2 separate regions of the Homo sapiens genome follow, and region 1 is linked to region 2. Evidence: promoter capture Hi-C in 16 types of primary human blood cells and fetal thymus (Javierre and others, 2016). All regions are on one chromosome and are shown on one strand. The core of a region is centred on a gene start or on the middle of the fragment in contact, and the rest is flanking DNA. Distances in the headings are between cores, read along the strand shown. Region 1 overlaps CLCN6 (chloride voltage-gated channel 6). Region 2 holds the start of TNFRSF1B (TNF receptor superfamily member 1B).

What was found. Contacts are between HindIII fragments. The CHiCAGO score rates a contact against its expected background, and 5 or more counts as called.
Region 1: a fragment that was not itself captured here is called in contact with the fragment with the promoter of TNFRSF1B in region 2 in 2 of 17 cell types (neutrophils and naive B cells); the score reaches 6.4 in neutrophils.

What each region holds. Positions count from the first base shown.
Region 1 is chr1:11,820,143-11,822,842 of GRCh38, reverse strand. CLCN6 (chloride voltage-gated channel 6) reads right to left here. Exons shown (of 23, transcript NM_001286.5): 6 at 42-148. Among named protein-coding and RNA genes, the nearest start is that of CLCN6, 15 kb to the right of the region's middle. The HindIII fragment of the contact is 5,075 bases long and covers 1-2,700 here.
Region 2 is chr1:12,165,628-12,168,327 of GRCh38, reverse strand. It overlaps TNFRSF1B (TNF receptor superfamily member 1B), which reads right to left and starts at 1,337. Exons shown (of 10, transcript NM_001066.3): 1 at 1,159-1,337. The coding sequence starts at 1,236. MIR7846 (microRNA 7846) reads right to left here and starts at 1,385; the gene lies at 1,290-1,385. RefSeq lists an enhancer at 270-911 and silencers at 952-1,181, 1,192-1,501. The HindIII fragment of the contact is 7,422 bases long and covers 1-2,700 here.

The DNA.
Region 1 (2,700 bases), core at 46-2,545, 350 kb after region 2:
TAAAACCTCCTAAGCGAGCAGGTGAATCCAAACCACCTCACCTCAATGAGAACAAGGAGGCTTGCCAGGAAGACAAAGGTGAGGTTAAAACCCAGGAGTTCAAGGAGAGACAGAGCGAGGCAGCCTTTCTGGCTGCACTCCTCCACCGCTGCGGAAACTGGGTTAAGGAAACTTGTTCATCAGCCGAGGGGTGTCCCCGTCATCACTTGAGAGGGTGCAGCTGCTTCTCCTTTGGATCATGCTGGCTGCTGAGTGCACTTTTTCTCTATATATAAAAATTTTTTAAAAACTGCCTGAGATGACTGGGTGCAATGGCTCATGCCTGTAATCCCAACACTTTGGGAGGCTGAGGCAGGAGGATCACTTGAGCCTAAGAGTTGGAGGCCAGCCTGGGCAATGTAGTGAGACCATGTCGCTACAAAAAGTACAAAAGGTATATGCCTATGGTCCCAGCTACTCAAGAAGCTGAGGTGGGAGGATCGCTTGAGCCTGGGAGGCTGAGGCTGCAGTGAGCTGTCATTGCACCACTGCATTCCAGCCTAGGCAACAGTGTGAGGCCTCATCTCTTAAAAAAAAGAAAAAATTGTTTGAGATGCCTTTGACATTAGGAAATACTTCAAACATTACAAAAAGTAACGAATACCCATACCCTCACAACTGTAGCTTTAACAAATCTCAACAACATGCCATATATGCTCCAGGTATTTTTAAAAAAGAAAACATTCAGTACCATTTTAAGAAACAAAACAAAACAAAAAAAAAAACAGTTTTCCTTCCTCTCTCCCCTGGGAGAAACCACTAACCTGAAATTATTGTGTGTATTTCAAAAGTGTCCACACTGTTGTACACGGCACTTGTATATTCTGTAACTTGCTCTTTTTTTCTCAACATTAAGTCTTTGAGAATTAGCCATGTTGATACACACAACTCTGTGGTTCGTTCACTTTCACTTGTCTAAAATTTTTATTTTACAATCTACAGAAATGACATGATGTCTAAAATGATACCATATGAATGTACCATAATTTTTCCATTCTCCCATTTGGTGACTCCAGCTTTTTGCTATCATAAAGCTATAATTACCACCTTTGTACATGTCTACGGTTCAAATTTCTAAGAGGAATGTATGAGTCACAGGAATGTGCACCTTCCTTTTTCTAGAGGTTTACTGGCCAGTTTTTCTCTTTTGAGAATTCCAGTTCACATCCTTTGCTCGTTTTCCTTCCATTGGACCATCTGTTGTTTTTCTGATTGAGTTGCAGGAGTTCTTCCTGTATTATTTGTTCTGAATCAGAGTCTCATTCTGTCACCCAGGCTGGAGTACAGTGTTGCAATCTCGGCTCACTGCAACCTCCGCCTCCTGGGTTCAAGTGATTCTCCTGCCTCTGCCTCCCAAGTATCTGGACTAAAGGTGCACACCACCACACTCAGCTCAATTTGTATTTTTAGTAGAGACAGGGTTTCACCATGTTGGCCAGGCTGGTCTTGAACTCCTGACCTCAAGTGATCCGCCTGCCTCGGCCTCCCAAAGTGCTGGGATTACAGGCGTCAGCCACCGCGCCCAGCCTCTTCCTGTATTCTGGATACTAATTATCTGCCTCTTAAATGCATAGTAAATAACCTCTCTCAGGCTGTGGACTTGTTTTCACTTTATTTATGGTGTTTTATTGTTGTTATTTGGAGTTTTTGTCTTTATAAATACAATATGTACTTTGATGTGGTCAAATTTATTGATTTTGTTTGTTTTTTTTTTTTGTTGTTGTTTTTTGAGACAGTTTTGCTCTCATTGCCCAGGCTGGAGTGCAATGGCGCGATCTCGGCTCACTGCAGCCTCTGTCTCCCGGGTTCAAGCGATTCTCCCACCTCAGCCTTCCAAGTAGCTGGGATTACAGGCACCCGCCACCATGCCCAGCTAATTTTTTGTACTTTTAGTAGAGATGGGGTTTTGTCATGTTAGCCAGGCTGGCCTTGAACTCCTGACCTCAGGTGATCTGCCTGCCTCGGCCTCCCAAAGTCCTGAGATTACAGGCATGAGCCACTGCACCCAGCCATTGATGTTTTTGTTTGTTTGTTTTTGAGACGGAGTCTTGCTCTGTCACCCAGGCTGGAGTGCAGTGGCGTGATCTTGGCTTACTGCAAGCTCCGCCTCCCAGGTTCATGCCATTCTCCTGCCTCAGCCTCCCCAGCATCTGGGACTACAGGCGCACACCGCCACGCCCAGCTAATTTTTTTGTATTTTTAGTAGAGACGGGGTTTCACCGTGTTAGCCAGGATGGTCTCAATCTCCTGACCTTGTGATCCGCCTGCCTCTGCCTCCCAAAATGCTGGGATTACAGGCGTGAGCCACTGTGTCCGGCCCCATTGATGTTTTTTCTTATAGTCTGTGCCTTCTGGAGTTTTAAGAAATTATTCCCCACTCTTGACAACATATAGTCTCCCGAAGTTTTGTTCTGCATATTTACATCTTCATCTGGAATTTATCTTATTTATAGTATGAAATAGGAATATAACTATTTTTCCATATGGATCACCCATGTCCCAGCATCATTTTTTTTAAGACAGGGTCTTGCTATGCTGCCCAGGCACAGTCATGGTGCATTACAGCCTCAAACTCCTGGGCTCACCTCCTAAGTAGCTGGGACTACAGAGATGTGTATCTTTTATTTATTAAATAACACAGCGTCTTTTATTAAATCATTC
Region 2 (2,700 bases), core at 88-2,587:
TCTCTGGCCTCAGATCAACAAGTCACCTTATGTCACCACAGAAGCCAGTGCCACCTCCCACCTTCCTCCTCGGTCAAGATGTCAGATGGGGGCAGATGGGCCATGTGTCCATCAGGGGCGGCTCTGAGGAAGGATGAACGCCCACCTTCCCCGCAGCCTCAGGGCACAGGGGCCGAAGGCAGGAGAGGCCCCCTTTGGAGGAAGAGTTCCCCCCAGACCCTTCCATGAAATACAAGTTCTCTGAGCCTCAGTTTTCCTTCTCTAAAAAATGGTTTATCTTATCTTACCAAACCATGGAGACAGTAAAACAAAAATGGGGTTATCCTATGTTACCAGACCAGGAGACAGTCAAAAACAGGCAAAGGGTGCACAGTCCCTTGTACGCCCGTTGCTACTGTGGGAGTGACGTTCATATTGAATAGGAGCCCTAGGGTTTCTGCTGTCTCCATTTTCCTGCGGCCCCCGGAGACTTCATTTGCCTTGCTCGATTACCAGCCCAGACCTCCCTCGCTTGCCCTGTCCCCAGAGGCCGCAGAAAACAGACTCTGCAGTAGCCCCCGGACGCATCGGAGGAAGCAGACAGGCAGCTCGCCCTCCAGCTGTGCCCTCAGTGGACCTGACACACACCTGGTCCTGCTCTTCAGACACAGGACCCTGGTATTTCTAAGAAATCGGAAAACCGTCGCCCAGAGGAAAAGGAAGTCTTTTGAAGAGGGTGCCCGGCGTGGGCAGTGGGGCAGCGCCCCGGCACAGCCCCTTCTCCACCGCGTGGGAGGGAAGGGCTGTCGCGGCAGTCGCCGGGGTGAGGGAAGAGGGGTCCCGGGTCTAGCGGGGGTCTGCCCAGGACCCGCTGCTCAGCCCCAAATGCCCCGGCCTGCGCTCGCGGAGGAACCAGGGTGCGCCCCTGTCACGACGCGGGTAAGAGGGGCTTCGGGGGCCAGAGTTGTGCCCCGAGCGCACGTGTGCCGGGCCCGGAGTCCCCAGCGGGTCCCCAGAGGCGCGCGTGTCTGATGCGGATGGGGGGCGGCGACTGGGACTCCCAGCCTCCCAGCCCGTGACAGCGCCCCGGGAGAGCGCGGCCCGGGCACCCGAAGGCTGCGCACCAGCCGGGTGGACATGCGGGGCGGCTGTCCCCCGTGGGCCGCGCGAGTCACCCACCTGGGCGGGCAAGGCGTGCGCCGCAGCCCAGAGCTCCAGTCCGACGGCCAGCGCGGCCCAGACGGCGACGGGCGCCATGGGTGCGGGCGGGGTCCGGTTGCCCCCTGCCCTCGCGCCCTCGCGCCCTCGCAGCCCAGCGCCTTCTCTCCAGGCTCCGCTGCGCTCGCTAGCCCTCGACTGAAAGCGAAAGCCCGCGCCCCAGCGGGCCAGAGGCCAGGCGGCGGGGCGGGGCGGGGCCAGCCGGCCTTGGACACGCCTCCCCCACGCCCCTCCCCAGACGCTGCTGGGCCTCCGACCCGACCACTCCAGCATCGCTGGGCCGATACCTCCAGCGTCACTCCCAGCACTCGGGTGACCCCTCAACCTCCTCCTATCGTCCCCTCCTCTTCGAATCACCATCTCCACCTGCCCGGCCTCCACCTGCCCGGCCTCCACCTGCCCTCCCAGCTCCCACAGGCTTCCCTGTCCCGTGAGGGTGAGGCACTAATTTGGAAAAACATCCCCCAAAGCTGACAGCTGCTTTAGGGGAACCAAGAGAATTCTAGATCATTCACTTATTTAGACTCTATTTTAAATATATTTAATTCTTATTTTTTAATTTTTTTTGAGACAAGGTCTCACTCTTTCACCCATAGCTCACTGCAGCCTCCAACTCCTGCGCTCAAGCGATCCTCCCACCTCAGCCTCCCGAGTAGCTGGGACTACAGGCTCGGGCCACCATGCTAGGCTGATTTCTTTATAGAGATGGGGTTTCGCCATGTTGTCCAGGCTGGTCTCGAACTCCTGAGCTCACGTGTTCTTCCCACCCTCAAGTGATCTTCCCGCCTCTGGCCTCCCAAGGTGCTGGGATTATAGGTGTGAGCCACTGCACTCGGCCTGTTTAGACTCTAGAGCCAGACCACCTGGGTCTGGATCTCTGAACTGACCTCATAGGACTATTCTAAAAATTTAAAGATATGTAATATACATAATGCAGTCTGTACTTTATATATACTTAAGTAAGTATCTACATATATAACAATAGGCATTTATAAATCTTGGCTGTTGTTACTACTCTTCGCGTGTTCATTTATCCTTAAACACGCATCCAGCCTTCTCACAGGGAGAAGACTCTGCACTTCCCTGCTCAAGTCTCCTGCCCAGGCAGGGGGCAGATGAACAGAGGCTGGGAGAGAATGTCACCAGGGAAGCTGCAGGGCCCTGAGGGGCTGCTGAGACCAGGCCCAGGAGAGCTGGCTTCCCCAGGATTTACATCATGACCGAGCACCCATTCCAGCTGCAATCTGTCCCCCCATCCCCACTTTGAGTGCCAGCCCTAATACAGGGCCAGCCCTGCGGGGCCAGAGCACATTCCTCCAGCCCTGGATTACGGGGGTCCTAGCCCCCAGCACATAGGGCATTTCTAAGGGTTGGGGTGGGCTGGGTGGCAGGAGGCTATTCTGTTCCCTGTTTCCTCACTGCAGGCTGCCTGAAGAGGTACAGAGACCCTTGCTCCCGGCCACCAGCCCCACAGTGGAGCCTGCAAGGATGGTGCTTCTAGGT